Regions from separate parts of the Homo sapiens genome. Here region 2 is linked to region 1. The links are contacts of gene promoters, found by promoter capture Hi-C in blood cells and fetal thymus (Javierre and others, 2016). All regions are on one chromosome and are shown on one strand. Each heading gives the region's core, a stretch centred on a gene start or on the middle of the fragment in contact. The rest is flanking DNA. Distances are from core to core; before and after follow the strand shown.

Region 1 (7,821 bases), core at 2,128-4,627:
GTGTATGAATGACACGCTTGCTCTGGAGTTTCCACCTGGGAGCTGTATGGGGACAGGGCTGTTCCTCCTCACACCCGCTGGGGAAGGGACACAGGCCTCTTGGTGGCCCCCACCATCTCCCAGCACTGCCCATGGCTGTGCCCACGCTGGCTGCCCCCTGAGAGCAGGACGTGTACTCAGGGGCAGCGCCTACCTCTGGGCAGCCCAGGTTTCTCTGCTCCCTGCAGCGGAACGGGCTTCCTAGGGCAGTTCCTGGGGTGGTGTCCCTAGGGCAGCCCCTGAGTGCTGGAGGGGGTCTGGGCCACAGGCCCTGAAACAGGGAGGTGGTGGGGGCAGCGTTCAGGGGGCTGAACCTCAGGGTGAGGCGGGCAGGCGGGGAGCCACAGGCCCGGGGGCCCCGCAGCAGGTGCTCAGCCTCGGAGCCTCCTGCCGCACCCCGGGGCGGGGGCTGGGAGCCCGCCCGAGCCCCTAGCTCTGAGCGACCTGCCAGGTTGGAATGTGTGTTTATCTTTGGCCCAACCCGATTTCCTGCTTTTTAGAAAAGGGGCTTAGAGAGGGTTGTTAGACAGGCTCCAGGCACCCCAACACCCAAAGGCACTTTGAAAACGCCCCTGCACTGACTTCAGTGCGGAGAAGCAAACGGGCTGGAATTTCACTCCCAAACCCCAACATGGGGGTGGCGGGGCCGGGGTGAGGGTTGTGGCTGCCTGCAAAGGTGCCAGGAAATCTGGGGAGGGAGGAACTTCCACCGTTCAGGGAGACCCTGAGGGTGCCCTGGCTTCTGGCCACGTCCCAGACCCTGTTAGGCACCGAGGTCTTCACACCCAGACCCTCCACCCACCCAAGTTTCTGCGGCACGTTTAGGTTGAGTGAAGACCAAGTCATCCAGTTAGAGAAGAGGACTTGAGGCGCGTGCTGCTGCTGTGGCCACGCTGGACCCTCGGTGCACGCATCTCCTGGCGAGTCCCCTGTGGCTCTGTGGGCCGTACACACCCGGGGCACGCGACCTCAGCTACCTTGTCACCGAGGACGTGCATCCACAGCTGTGCGTCTGTGCCTGGGAGCGGGGTCTCCACTTGGTGGGTCTCTGCATGCTGACCAGTTAACCCGCCTTTCCGGGCTGTGGAGGGCGTGGGTCCTGTCCGGCCCGGAGATGCTCCGCGGGGTGTGTGTGTGATCGTGGCCCTGTAGCGGGGTGGTGTTCCCTGGAGGGTGGACCCCTGAGCCTGGCTGTGTGTGGCTGTGTCTCAGCATGAATTCCGTGACCCAGGAGCACGTTTTCAGGCAGGGATTAGGGGCAGCTGGGTGTGGGAGGCAGGCACTTGGTATACCACCGAATGGAGACAGAAAATCCCAACTCTACGAAGGAAGTGAAGTCCCTTCAACAGGGACAAAGCGATGTTTTGGGTCTGACTACAATGCACCCTGGGAAGTCTCAAAGAAAACAGTCGGGGACTCAAGGAGGGCAGCCCCCTCTCCCCGACCCCGAGCTCCCAGGAAGATAAATGATTTCCTCCTCTCTAGAGATGGGGGTGGGATCTGAGCACTCAGAGCCAAGGGCGCAGTGGGTCCGGGCGGGGGCCCTCCTCGGCCCTCCCAACATGGGGGCCAGGAGGTCAGCCCCTCAACCTGGACCCCGGCTGGGTCTCAGGGAATGGTCTCCCCCAGTGGCCCAGCTTGCTTGTGTTTTCAGATGGGTGTGCACGGGTGTGTGTGTGTGTGTGTGTGTGTGTGTGTGTGTGTGTGATGCCTGACAAGCCCCAGAGAGCCAAAGACCTGAGTGGAGATCTTGTGACTTCTCAAAAGGGGGATTGGAAGGTTCGAGAAGGAGCTGTGGTCAGCCTTGCTCTCCCTTAAGGCTGTGGTAACCACACTAGGCATAGCATAGGCCTGCGCCCCGTCCCTCCTTCCCTCCTCCGCGCCTCTCCTTTCTCTTTCTCCCCCCTCTACCCCGCTCCCTGGCCTGCTCCTGGTGACACCGTTGGCCCCCTTCCAGGGCTGAGGGAAGCCAGCGGGGGCCCCTTCCTGGAAGCCCACCTGCAGGCCGGCTTGCTGGGAAGGGGCTGCTCTCGCAGAGGCTCCCGCCCGCCCTGCAGCCGTTTCCTGGAAGCAGTCGCTGTGGGTATTCTGTTCCTTGTCAGCACTGTGCTTGCAAAGAAAGCAGACACTGTGCTCCTTGTCCTTAGGGAGCCCCGCTCCATCACCCAACACCTGGCTGGACACAGGCGGGAGGCCGGGTCCGCGGGGAGCGGCGCGGGGCTGGGGCCGGACCAGTAAACACACACGGGCGCCAGGCACTGCAGGCTCCTCCTCCTCCTCCTGCCCAGCGCCTCTGCTCACAGGCACGTGCCAAGCCCCTAGGCCAGGAGGCCCAGCAGTGGGTGCAGAGCAAGCTCCTGGGAAGGGGGTGCAGGGCGGACCCCCGGGGAGAAGGGCTGGCAGGGCTGTGGGGGACGCTGACCGTGGGCCCCACGTTGCAGAAAACTGGCTGCCTGGCTGGAAGATGGGGGAGATGCCAAGCCTCTGAGGCAGCACGAGCAGGGTGCATGGAGGCCGGGGCGCGGGGAGGCTGCACTGCAGCATGCACCCCAAAGCCCAGAGGGAGTGGAGACCAGGCCCTGGAATCGAGAAGTAGAAAGGCGGCTTGGAGGCCTCGGAACCGGCTGACCTCCAACAGAGTGGGGCCGGCCCTGGAGGCAAAGAGGTGCCCGGGGTCCGGCCCTGCCTGGGGGAGCTATGTGTCATGGGCAGCCACAGGATATGTAGCCAGCTCTGAGCATATGGACCCAGGGCAGGGCTGCAAGGCAGGGCAGGGGAGACAGACGGGGGAGCAAGGAGCAGAGAGGGGGCCTCAGGCTCTCCCAGGAGGAACATTCTCCCGACAGGAGGAAGAGACGGCCCAGGGGTGACTGTGGGGAGCCATGGTGGCAGCTGGGGTCGTGGCAGATGGGAGAGAGGCTGGCGAGGTGAAGGTGCAGGGGTCAGGGCTCTGGGGCCCACATGCCTGTGGGAGCGGGCAGGCCCAGGGCTCTCCGCCACTCCCCACTCCCGCTTGGCTCATAGGCTGGGCCCAAGGGTGGGGTGGGATGAGCAGGAGATGGGGCCCAGGGGGCAAGCAGGGCCCCAAAGACATTTAGAAAAACCGGTTTATGCAGGCAGCATTCAGAGCAGGCGGCGTGCGTGGCGGGGGCCCTGGGAGCACAGAGAGGCACACGTAGGGCCCCCGAGGGTCTCCCCATTGGCCGGCAGTGACATCACCCCTGTGTCAACAGTGATGTCTGCAGCTCCGGCCAGCCAGGGTTTATGGAGCGAGACCCAGCCCGGCCTGGGCCCTCACTCCCCAGGCCCACACACTAGCCCACTGTTCAGGGTCCGGGGTGGCAGCATGGCCTGGGGGTCCTGGCACCGCTGCTCCTCTGCCCACCCTAACTTCCCGGCATGGCGGCTGCCCCCTCTGAGCGTCCCCAACCAGTAAGTGTGGGGCCAGCAGGCCTGCCGTCCTCCTCCTCTTCCCTCTAGAGAGAAACGTGGAGGTCCTGGGGCTGGGGGCGCTCATAGCCCTGTGACACAGGTGCATGGGGTCAGGGGTCCCAGAATGGCCCCTGGGAAGGACCTCAGCTGGGCCGGCGGCTCTAGGCTTCAGGGGTCTGTCTGCACAGGGGCTAGCCCCTCCCAGACCTCTGTGAAGCCAGTACGGGCCTCCCCTCCCTGCCCCGTGCTCTGTCCGGTGCTTCCTGGACTGCACTGCGGGCCACTGGTGAGAGGGTGGACAGGGAAGGGCCGCCGTGGTGCCTGTTCCTGCCCACCTGGCTGTGTGGTCCCCTCCAAGTAGGGACAACCCTTCTGAGGGCTTGGGGGCACCCTGGGGTTGCCAGGGCCTCCCAGAGCCCTGTGAGCCCCTGGGGGGTCTGGCCTGATGCCCCCCTCCACGTCCAGGGCCGGCTGTGGCCCAGAACCCCAGCTTCCCAGCAGGCCGGTGTGCGGTGGTGACCCAGGAGAGGCCTCACCTCCACTGAGGGGCCACCGACCTCTGCCAGGCCACAGAGACCCCCAAGGAGTCTGAAGGCTGGAGACCCGGGGCTGGGACCAGGTGGGACTTTCCCACGGAGCCGCCCCCAGGCCCAGCTGGGGACACGTCCCCCTTCTCTCCAGACACACCCTGCCTGCCACCACGACACACCGGCCTGTTGGGGGTCTCTTTTAAGTGCTTGCCACTCTGAGGTGACTGTCCCTTTCCAAAGAGGTTTCTGGGGCCCAGGTGGGATGCGTCGGCCTGAGCAGGAGGATCTGGGCCGCCAGGGGCTGGGGACTGTCTCCTGGGGAAGGAAGCGCCTGGGAGCGTGTGTGCTGACCCAGGACCATCCAGGGAGGCCCGTCTGTGGGGCAAGCGGGAAGGGAGCGGCTGGAGAGGCTTGGCCGCCCCCGCCCTGCCTCCCATTCCTTAGCTCCATGCCTGTCAACCTCTGTCACCCAGTGAGTGATGTCCAGGGGCCCTGGAAAGGTCACAGCATGTTTGAGCGGGGTGAGAGAGAGGGGAAAGGCGGGGGCGGGGAAAAGTACGTGGAGGAAGCTCTAGGCCCAAGGAAGGAGAAAGGGTTCTGGGAGGGAGGGAGCCACTGGGGCCGCCGGGAAGGTCCCTGCCTGCTGCTGCCACCCAGAACCCTCGCCTCTTAGCTAGCCCCCGCAGCCCCAGCCTTTCTGGCCTGTGCCCCTCTCCCCCATCCCCAGCTGTCCTGTGCAACCAGGCCTTGGACCCAAACCCTCCTGCCCCCTCCTCTCCCTCCTCACCCTCCCAATGCAGTGGTCTCCAGCCTGGCTCTGCCCTGCCGCAGGTCCCCTCCCCTCATTCCAGGCCTAGAGCCTCCAGTCCCGGTGGCCCCCAGCCCGAGGGTGAACGGCCTCACCCTGGGTCGTGGGACAGAGGGCACGTTCATCAAGAGTGGCTCCCAAGGGACACGTGGCTGTTTGCAGTTCACAGGAAGCATTCGAGATAAGGAGCTTGTTTTCCCAGTGGGCACGGAGCCAGCAGGGGGGCTGTGGGGCAGCCCAGGGTCAAGGCCAGGCTGTGGGGCTGCAGCTGCCTTGGGCCCCACTCCCAGGCCTTTGCGGGAGGTGGGAGGCGGGAGGCGGCAGCTGCACAGTGGCCCCAGGCGAGGCTCTCAGCCCCAGTCGCTCTCCGGGTGGGCAGCCCAAGAGGGTCTGGCTGAGCCTCCCACATCTGGGACTCCATCACCCAACAACTTAATTAAGGCTGAATTTCACGTGTCCTGTGACTTGGGTAGACAAAGCCCCTGTCCAAAGGGGCAGCCAGCCTAAGGCAGTGGGGACGGCGTGGGTGGCGGGCGACGGGGGAGATGGACAACAGGACCGAGGGTGTGCGGGCGATGGGGGAGATGGACAACAGGACCGAGGGTGTGCGGGCGATGGGGGAGATGGACAACAGGACCGAGGGTGTGCGGGACACGCATGTCACTCATGCACGCCAATGGGGGGCGTGGGAGGCTGGGGAGCAGACAGACTGGGCTGGGCTGGGCGGGAAGGACGGGCAGATGGGATCCCAAGGACATGGAATTTCGGACCTTCTGTCCCCGCCCTCTCTGCTGAGCCTAGGAACCTCTGAGCAGCAGGAAGGCCTTGGGTCTAGAGCCTAGAAATGGACCCCCACGTCCACCTGCCCAGCCTAGACCCCCAGCATTGAAGGGTGGTCAGACTTCCTGTGAGAGGAAGCCACTAAGCGGGATGGACACCATCGCCCACTCCACCCGGCCCTGCCCAGCCCTGCCCAGTCCAGCCCAGTCCAGCCCAGCCCTGCCCTTCCCAGCCCTGCCCAGCCCAGCTCATCCCTGCCCTACCCAGCCCAGCCCTGTCCTGCCCTGCCCAGCCCAGCCCAGCCCAGCCCTGCCCTGCCCTGCCCTGCCCTTCCCAGCCCTGACCTTCCCAGCCCTGCCCAGCCCAGCTCATCCCTGCCCTACCCAGCTCAGCCCTGCCCTGCCCTGCCCAGCCCTGCCCAGCCCAGCCCTGCCCTGCCCTGCCCAGCTCAGCCCTGCCCACCCCAGCCCAGCCCAGCCCAGCATGCCTTCTCTGGCTGGAGAGCACAGGCTTGACCTTAGAAAGAGGCTGGCAACGAGGGCTGAGGCCACCAGGCCACTGGGTGCTCACGGGTCAGACAAGCCCAGAGCCTGCTCCCCTGCCACGGGTCGGGGCTGTCACCGCCAGCATGCTGTGGATGTGCATGGCCTCAGGGCTGCTGGCTCCAGGCTGCCCCCGCCCTGGCTCCCGAGGCCACCCCTCTTATGCCATGAACCCTGTGCCACACCCACCTCTGAGCTGTCCCCGCTCCTGCCGCCTGCACCCCCTGAGCAGCCCCCTGTGTGTTTCATGGGAGTCTTAGCAAGGAAGGGGAGCTCTTCAATCTTGCCAGTCAGGGTGCTGTCTGCTGAGTAAGTGTCCCCGTGCTGTGCCCCAATGTCCCCATCCTTTGGCAAACAGCCATCAGCCTGTGGATCCTGCACTCCCATGCGGTGGGAGAGGGAGACCTGGGCTCACCTGAGCCTCCCCACAAGCCAGGGAGAGGGGCTGCCCAATGGCGGGAGGCCCCCATGGATCCCAAACGGCAGTTGCCCGCACTCCTACCCAGGAACTTTGTCTGTGATGAACAGTAAGGAATAAGGAAGCGGGTGAGAAAGAAGGAAGGAAAGGCGGTGGGGGGCATGGCGGGGGGCGGGGAGGGTGTTTGGAAAGTTCCAGAAAAGAGTCACTTCACCAGAAAGGCCACAAGCTCCCCGTGCCCCCAGCCCCTGCTCGGCTCCGAGGTGAAGGACTTGGAGCGTCGACGCTGGCGTGGGGACCAGCTGTTCTCCTTGAGTTTGTTTCCTTCAGTTCCTTCCGGGCCTCACCCTCCTCTTCCTGCCACACACACACTTTTTTCCTTTTTAAATTGTTTTATTTGGGGCCAGGTGTGGTGGCTCACACCTGTAATCTCAGTATTTTAGAAGGCCAAGGTGGGCAGATTGCTTGAGTCCAGGAGTTGGAGACCAGCCTGGGCAACATAGTGAGACCCCATCTCTACCAAATATCAGCCAGGTGCGGCGGCGCGCACCTGTATTCCCAGCTATGTGGGAGACTGAGGTGAGAGGATCACGTGAGCCCAGGAGGTTGAGGCTGCAGCAAGCCATGATCATACCACTGCACTCCAGCCTGGGCAAGAGAGTGACACCCTGTCTCAAAAAAAAAAAAAAGTAGAAAAATTTATTTTAAAAAATTGTTTTAACATTTGAGTGCTGCAACTGTCCAAGGAGGAGCAGACGGCCCGTGTCAGACAGCCTGAAGCCTGACTGTCTGCGATCAACGGCCCCGTGGCCAGCTGTGTGCAGCAGTTTGGCCTGGCCTGATGCCTCTGTCCTTGGCACCAGCTCACAGCCCGTGCCCATAACAGACCTGGGGCACCGAAGGAAGGGCAGATCCAGCCCCCACCTGCCCTGGGTCTGAAGATCTCCCAGGAGGCTCCATGGGGTGCCTTGAGTGGGAGGGGCTGGCCGATAGCCTTGAGGAATTGGCACGGACATGCAGAGAGGGGCATGTCCCAAACTCGGGGCGCTGTGGCCTCCAGCTGCCAGGAGGTAGATGTGTTCTGACTTCTGGGTTCCCACCACCAGAACTGCAGGGGATATGAAGCAAGCTGGACTTGGGGAGACATCTCTGCTCGAGTGCACGTTGGCCTGATGACGACTGCTCTTGGGTTCACGGGTTCCAGGCTCTGCCCGGGAGCCTCATGCAAACTGGTCCCGTTCTACAGACGAGGAAACTGAGGCACAGAGTGAT
Region 2 (7,821 bases), core at 2,082-4,581, 140 kb after region 1:
CGGTGGCTCACGCCTGCAATCCCAGCATTTTGGGAGGCCGAGGCGGGCAGATCACGAGCTCAGGAGATCAAGACCATCCTGGCTAACACGGTGGAACCCCATCTCTACTAAAAATACAAAAAAAAAAAAAATTAGCCGGGCATGGTGGCATGTGCCTATAGTCTCAGCTACTTGGGAGGCTGAGGAAGGAGAATGGCGTGAACCCGGGAGGCGGATATTGCAGTGAGCTGAGATCATGCCACTGCACTCCAGCCTGGGTGACAGAGTGAGACTCTGTCTCAAAAAAAAAAAAAAAAAAAAAGAGGAAATGTGGACACGGGACACAGACACCCACGGTGGGGAGCTCCCCATGAGAAGACAGTGGAGATGAGGGTGAGGCATCCACAAGACAGTTGCACCAAGGGGCACCGGGACCCCCAGCAGTGGGAGAGGCCTCAGGAGAACCAGTCCTGCCCACCCCAGGATCTCGGACTTCCAGAATGTGGGAGCTCAACGTCACGGCAGCCACAGGGCAGCAGGACAACCCCTCCAGCGACACGTCTCACAAGCAGGCCACGGCGTGGGGGAGCCCTGCCTGTTCTCAAGGAACCCAGGCCGAGGAATAGGCACACTCCAGGATGCTCACGGGGCTCTGGGAGGCCTTCTCAGCAGATGTACGCCCTCACCTCCCGAATCGCAGAGGAAAGGGAAGCCAGGGTGCAGGGTGTCCTCCTGTGGCCGTCCAGCCCTCTCTCCTGCCCACATCACCGTCGTGGAGAAGGCAGACTCTTGCTCTCTCACTCAGCTACTCCTCCGCAGACGCCAGGGCCATCTTGCGGCCCATCCACCTTCCTCCCGGTCCCCCAGCCTCTCCTCCCTACACCCTCCACGTTGATGTGCAAATCACTCAACCTTTTCACAAAAAAACAAAAGCAAAGAGCATCCCGGAGGCTGCCCAGCCCATGTGGCCGCCCGCTTCTCACTCCTTCCCTCCCTGGCCAAGCCCCTGCCTCCAGCCCTTCTCTCCACTCAGCCTGGACTGGCAGGCGTGGGCAAGGGAGGAGGTGTCCCCAGTGAGGGCCCAGCCACCCCTCAGGCCGTCCGGGCATTTCTGTGTGTGTGTGTGTGTGTGTGTGTGCGCACGAGCGTGTGTGACAGGGTCTTGCTCTGTCACCCAGGCTGGAGTGCAGTGGTGCAACCAGGGCTTACTGCAGCCTCTACCTCCTCGGCTCAAGTGATCCTCCCGCCTCAGCCTCCCAAATAACTGGGATCACAGGTACATACCACCACGCCCAGCTAATTAAAAAATTTTTTGTGTGTACAGATGGGGTCTCACCATGTTTCCCAGGCTGGTCTTGAACTCCTGGGCTCAAACCATCCTCCTGTCTCAGCCTCCCATAGTGCTGGGAGTACAAGCATGAACCACTGCACCCGGGCAGTGCATGCGTGTTTGAGAACGGTGTGGGCCTTGCTGGGTGGGAGGTTAAACAGGAACAGAGCCTTCCTCTGAAGAGCTAAGAGTCTACCCAAGAATCAGATGCAGAATCATTTCTTCCCTCAGTGCCTGAAACTCTAAGGGAGGTGTGTGGAGGGCAGACCCCGGCCCCTCCGTTGTCCTGTCTCCAAATCTGGTGCAGGGTCCAGCGAGCAGCACGGGGACCAGCAAGCGGCTGCATCAGGTGATGAGTTAGTTTGGATTCTGGGATGGAGCCAGCTGAGGGCATCAGATTCCGGGGGATGGAGCCAAGCAGGGAAGCCTTGAGGGGTGAGCCAGGAGGAGCTCTGTGCCAGGCGGGCAGGACACAGGGACACTCCAGGTGCAGAGGCCACAAGGCAGATGTCTGAGAGGTGCAGACCTGGATTTGAGGGGAGAAGCCGGGGGTTGGGACCTGTGTAGCAGGCTGGAGGTGCGTGTAGAAGTCCCAGCCGAGCAGGGAGAGGCCTGGGCAGGAGATGCTGTGTGCTGGCACCATGGGCTGGAAAGGACGTCCCGCAGTACAGGCCATCCCGCAGCGCCCCTCCCTGGCAAATCACTCTGTGGGCACACGCAGGTGCTGGAGGGGTTTGCTGTGGGGAGCAAAGCTGGGGGCTGTGCCCTCTCCCTGCACGCGAGCTGGGGTCACTCGGCCCCTTTCCTTCCACTGGCCGTGGCCACTGGTGAGCTTGGGAATCTGGCCCAGGAGTGAAGAGAGTGAGGAAGAGAAGCTCTCAACGGGGACAGAGACAGACAGGAAAGGGGCAGGGAAGGCTTCGAGGGGGCCGGGTGGATCGGAGGGATGCCAGGAGAGGGCAGTGACCAGACAGCTGCCCCTAGCAGAGCGGACAGGCCAGGCGGGGTGGGGAGGCAGTACTGGGGGAGCCCAGGGTTCAGGGCCAGCTGAGAGTGGAAGAAGCTCTCCAGCAGGCGCAAAGAGACATGGGCCAGGTCAGAGAAGATGGGCGTCGGTCGGCACAAAAGGCCTTGGGTCGGAGAGCTTGGCTATTTATTTTGTTTGCTTTTAGTTTTTACTTTATTTTTTTTTTTTAATTTGTAGAGATAGGGTTTTGCTATGTTGCCCAGGCTGGTCTCAAACTCCTGGCCTCAAGTGATCCGCCCACCTTGGTCTTCCCAAATCCTGAGATTACAGGCGTGAGTCATCAGCCTGGCCTTCTTCTTCTTTTTTTCTTTCTTTAAATTCTCAAAGCTTTTATTTTTTGAGATGGAGTCTTGCTCTGCTGCCCAGGATGGAGTGCAGAGGCGTGATCTGGGCTGACTGCAACCTCTGCCTCCCGGGCTCAAGCAGTCCTCTTGCCTCAGCCTAGCTCTACCTCCCTAGCTGGGACCACAGACATACACCACCACACCCGGTTAATTTTCATATTGTTTTGTAGAGACACTTTGTTGCCCAGGCTGGTCCCGAACTCCTGAGCTCGAGGCTCCCCACGCAGCCTCCCAAAGTGCTGGGATTAAAGGTGTGAGCCACCACACCTGGCCTTCATTTTTTTTTGTCTCTCTCCCTTTGAAAATCTTTAGAGCTTGGTGTTGTCTCCACTATTTGGCGGCGTCAGAGTGACCGGGGCCTTCACTCATGAGAAGCTCAACCTGCAGCGACAGCAGGGCCGGCTGGGACCTGCAGGCGGGGAGCTGATCTGAGAGCCGTGAAGGGCCTCGCTGTGGACATGTGCTCCGGGGGGCACGGGACGCTTCGTGAGAGGGCGGTGACAATTGCTGGGTTCTGCCCCGATGGCCTCTGGTTTGAGGTGGGGGGCCCAGGTGATTTGGGGTGTGAGTGAGAGATTTTGGGGAGCTTGGTGGGGGGGGCGGAGGGGAGGATCAGAAGGAGGAAGCTCGTGGAAACCGTGCCTGGCCCAATGCCGCGCTGATTCTCGGCGGCCTGCCGGAGGGGCAGCCGCAGAGACTGGAGCCTGCCAGGACGCAGGCCTTCCCGATGGCTCGAGGAGGGGACAGGGAGTCAGGAGCAGCTTGGCAAGGAGGGGGAGCAATGGGAGATGACAGGGGGTGGTGAGGAGGTAGGGGTGACTGGGGCCAGGGGAGGGAGAGGCCCTGGGGCCAGGCTGTGCTTGTCGAGGCGGCGGAGGTGCTTGCAGGAGGGCAGGAGCAACAAGGGGATCGGGGGGTTTCCAGCGTGGTCACGGCCAGCCCCGCACAACGGGGAACACTGGCTGCCAGAGGACTCCAGTGTACATGGTGGCCCCAGCGTCTTGTAGGGACTGTTAGACAATCCTCATGCAGACCCGTGTCCCCGTCCTGAGGTCCCGTCACAGGTGTATGCCTCGCCCCAGCAGCACTGACACAGCTGCAAATAACTCCAGGTCCCTGACTTCGTGGATTTTCCCTCCCAGAGGAAGAGACGGACAGTGAACAAATGAAAAAACAAGTCCATGGTCATTCTGGAAAATAACCAGGAGAAGTCACAGAGATGGCTGGGGGACTCACGGAGGGCTTCACGGAGGAGGTGACCATGCTGGAACTGAAGGGTGTGAAGGAGATGGCCACAGGGAGAGTGGGGAGAAGCTTCCAGGCCTGGGGCAGAGGCAGGCTTGGTGGTCCTGGTGTGATATTCAGCAGCTGGGTGGTCCAGGGCGCCGAGCCAGGCCTTGCTGGGGCTGGGGGAGAGTCGGGCTGACTCTGGGGGGCACATAGGAGAGGAGTTTAGGGAGGCAGGAGGTGCCAGCTGGGTCCCTGCCTACCTGGTGGTCCAGTGAGGCAGGCGCTCTCATCTCCATGTTCATTGTACATCTGGGTAAACTAAGGCTGGGCAGCCCACTGGGGTGGAGTGGGGGCTGAGCCACAGAGGCAGCTCTAACCCTGGGCTCCAGGGCTGTCTGGGGAGAGCCGGAGCCGGAGGAGTGGGGGTGGTGAGGCCCTGGCAAGCGCCGGACTCAGCTTTCCAAGGATGGCTGGAGCCAGGCACCGGCCTGCAAAGGTGGGTCTGGGCCCAGGCACAGCCGGTGCCAGGGGAACAAAAAGGACACAGGGCTGCACAGGTCAGGGGTGAGGTGCAGCTGGAGAGAGAGGGTGAAGCCCAGCCCTGATCCGGGGGCCCCTCGGTGGAGGCCCAGGGAACCCCTGAGGACCACACAGGGGGTCCAGCAGGTGGACATTCATGGGGGAACTCTGTGTCCCCCTCTGGGACCCCACTCCTGGCTTCCCCTTGATCGAGTGCGTGAGGGGGTGAAGGTCAGGGGGAAGCCCCCTCTGAGTCCAGCCCTGCGGAGAGAATGAAGCCCCGTGACCTGCCTCATCCTAGCTCCACCCAGCGCCCAGCATGGCCAGGGCACCGGGCCTCCCTCCTGCAGTCCCTGAAAGGCAACTTTCCAGCCTTGGATCCCTGGCCCTAACCCTAACCCTAACCCTAACCAAGGTGTCCCCGGGGGCCTGGCACCCAGCCCCGCCCTCGGCCCTCAGCCAGGGGCACACACACAGTCCTCAGCCTCCTCCACCACCCCGAAGTCCCCCACACCCTCTGGGGCACCTTTCTGCCCACACCTGAGCCCTGTGAGGTCCTCTCTGTTAACTTGTGGTATTTTTCATGTCATCTGTTTTTGTTGTCGCTTACGAATTGTATTGCTTTAACGTTCAAAGAAAAGTTTAGCTTTGGGGGAAGTCATTTCAAACCCACAGAGAAGTTTCAAGAATAAGAATTTGACAAGGTGCCTCTGTACCCCCCTCACCCAGGGCACATGTCCACTTTGCCATTCGACCCCTGCCTCTCCGCCTCTCAGCCTCTCTGTTTCTCTGAGCCTCTGTCTCTTTCTCTCTGCTTCTGTCCGTGTCTCTCTGCCTCTGTGTCTTTGTCTCTCTGCTTCTCTGTCTCTGCCTCTGTCTGTGTCTCTCTGCCTCTGTGCCTTTGTCTCTCTGCTTCTCTGTCTCTGCCTCTGCCTCTCTGCCTCTGTGCCTCTGTGTCTGTCTTTATGTCTCTTGTCTCTCTGTCTCTGTCTCTCTCTCTGCCTCTGTCTCTGTCTCTCTGCCTCTCTGCCTCTGTGTCTCTGTGTCCCTCTGTCTCTTGCCCTCTCTCTGCCTCTTTGTCTCTCTTTGTGTTTCTCTCTATGTGTTTCTGTGTCTCTCCATCTCTCTGTCTTTCTCTGTGTGTCTCTCTGTCTCTGTCTCTGTGTCCCTCTGTCTGTCTCTGTCTCCATGTCTCTCTGTGTCTCTGTCTCTGTGTCTCTGTCTCTGTCTCTCTGTCTCTGTCTCTGTGTCTCTGTCTCTGTGTCTCTCTGTCTCTGTTTGTCTCTGTCTCTGTCTCTCTGCCTCTGTCTCTCTGTCTCTCTGTCTCCCTCCTTTCCTCCTGAAGATTTTAAGGTCTGTTTCCTTGGAATGCAGATGTTGTTTTGTGTAACTATGAACTTGAGCACATTTACCGCGGACACTGCTTGTTATCTTGTCTGCCGGTCTGTGTCCTGATGGCCGCTCCCATCAGCGGGGGCACAGGGCAGGCCCTCTGCGTCACCACGGCCTCCTAGCAGAAAGGACATGTCAGGCTCTTCCTGCACGTTTCCTGCCCCACCCTGCAGTCAACCTCTCTTCCGAGGAGCCCTGGGTCCTTCAGGGGAGGACGGTTTTAGGGAGCAGAGCCTGGGGCCCGGTTTGCTCCTGGACACTGGGGTGTCTGCATGTCAGTGGCTCAGCGGCAGAGCAGGAAACACCCGCGTGTGCAGAAGCACCCACCTCTGCCTCCCCCGAGGAACCCCTGCCTTCTGTCTCCAGCAGCCGCAACTTCCAGGGGTGCCCCGTGCACTTCCTCCCACCCCTCCCTCCTTGGCCCGCTGTGCCCAGTCTTCCCCAACCCCTTCCTGGCCACAGCCCAGCACGGGTTACCTGGGACTTCAGAGGCCATGTCCTCCCCGACCTCCAGAGCCACGCACAGGGCTGCCCACAACCCCTGCCCTGGGCCTGTCCCCCTCCTCTTCCGGGACTCCCCTGGGGCTCATGGTGCCTGCCCCGGCTGCCCTGGCTGTCCCTACCCTCCCCCTCGTCTCCTCTCGCCCTGGCCTTAGGCACCTCTGCCCATCGGCTCACCACCCAGGACACCCACATCCACATCTCCAGCCCAGCCCCTGCTCCAGCTGCCTGGGCCAGGTCTCCCCTCGGAATTTCCACAGGGCCCCCAAACCCAGCAGCCCCAAAGTGAGTGCCTCACCTCCTCCCAAGGCCACTTTCTCACGGCTCCTGCCCTGGAGAACAGTCTCTGCCCACCCGTGCCCCCAGCAAGGTGCCTGCCTTCCTCATGTCCCTCAGCCAACAAGTCCTGGGGACCCGGCCCCTTCCACGTCTCCATTCCTCACCCCCCAACCCAGCGGTGACTTCCGCTGTGCTCCACCCTGCTGAGGCCTTTCTAGAATGCAGAGCTGGGGGACAGCCCCATGGGGTACTGGCTGCAGGCCTCACTTCCAGCAGGGACACCAGAATCACCCGAGAGGGACGGAGCCGGGCTCAGAGGGGCGCCGGTTTGATATTTGCTGGTTTGCTTTCCGCAGGCCTCTCACTTACTCCTTCATTTACTCATTCACTCATCTATTGGAAATTTAACAAACACCCGTGCATCTACTATCCAGCCCAAGAATTAAAACATCCCCCAAACCTGCATCAGCGTAGGGGTCCTGTCTCCATTCTGCCCCTGCTCTGCCCCCACCCCACTCACCCCAGAGGGTCACTCTTTGGAATTTCGTGTTTGTGTTCAACATTTCCTTGCTTTGAAATAAAAAAGATAATTTTCCCACACAGCGTGTCTGCCCCGGCCAAGTTGAATCTTGTGGTTGGCAGCCAGGTGTGATGCGCCTGCCCCAACTCCTCTGCCACACCCCCCTGACGCCCTGTGGGATTGGGTCCCGCCCCCTTTCCCAGTAGGCACAGGCTCTGGAAAGGTGCCATGTCCCCTGCAAGGGGTCCATGGCCAGGCCCCACCGCCGCCTGTCCCTCGCTCTGCCTGTTGCCTGCCTGGCTCTGCATGGGACGTGCTCCAGCCTGCAGCACCCTCTGCCTCCACACTTGTCCTCCCTCAGGTCTCAGCTGAGGCTTGGGCTTGGGCAGCTTCCCCCCGACAGGCCAGGTCTCGGGCCTCACTTCTGTGCCTCATGGCCTCCTACACCCTGGGCCTTGCCTGGTCCCATCATTCTGGCATGGGGTGCCATGCACCTCTGCCACAGCTGCACCCACCAGGCAGTGCCCCCTTGGCCCCAAGCTGCCCTGCTCGGTGCCTTCCCCTACAGAAGGCTAAAGGAGAAGGCCCGGGTGGGGGGTTCGGACTGGCGTGGGGCTCCAGCTACAGAAAAGGTCAGAGCTGAGTGCCAGGGCTGTAGGGTACCCGGGAAGCAGGGGACTGCACACAGCCAAGGCCGTCC

What was found. The method cuts DNA at HindIII sites, captures the fragments that hold promoters and counts their contacts. A CHiCAGO score of 5 or more calls a contact.
Region 2: a fragment that was not itself captured here is called in contact with the fragment with the promoter of MRPL23-AS1 in region 1 in 1 of 17 cell types (endothelial precursors); the score reaches 5.4 in endothelial precursors.

The regions. Positions count from the first base shown.
Region 1 is chr11:1,985,476-1,993,296 of GRCh38, reverse strand. MRPL23-AS1 (MRPL23 antisense RNA 1) reads left to right here and starts at 3,377. Exons shown (of 4, transcript NR_024471.1): 1 at 3,377-3,471; 2 at 7,656-7,821. LINC01219 (long intergenic non-protein coding RNA 1219) reads right to left here and starts at 2,201. Exons shown (of 3, transcript NR_126400.1): 1 at 2,038-2,201; 2 at 1,017-1,359; 3 at 1-42. It also overlaps a transcript of MRPL23 not described here. RefSeq lists enhancers at 1,488-5,558, 5,553-6,407, 1,488-6,407. The HindIII fragment of the contact is 17,986 bases long and covers 1-7,821 here.
Region 2 is chr11:1,842,851-1,850,671 of GRCh38, reverse strand. It overlaps LOC107984299 (a long non-coding RNA gene), which reads right to left and starts at 6,335. Exons shown (of 3, transcript XR_001748095.2): 1 at 6,299-6,335; 2 at 5,842-5,939; 3 at 2,925-4,108. RefSeq lists enhancers at 204-1,190, 5,953-6,052. The HindIII fragment of the contact is 1,331 bases long and covers 2,666-3,996 here.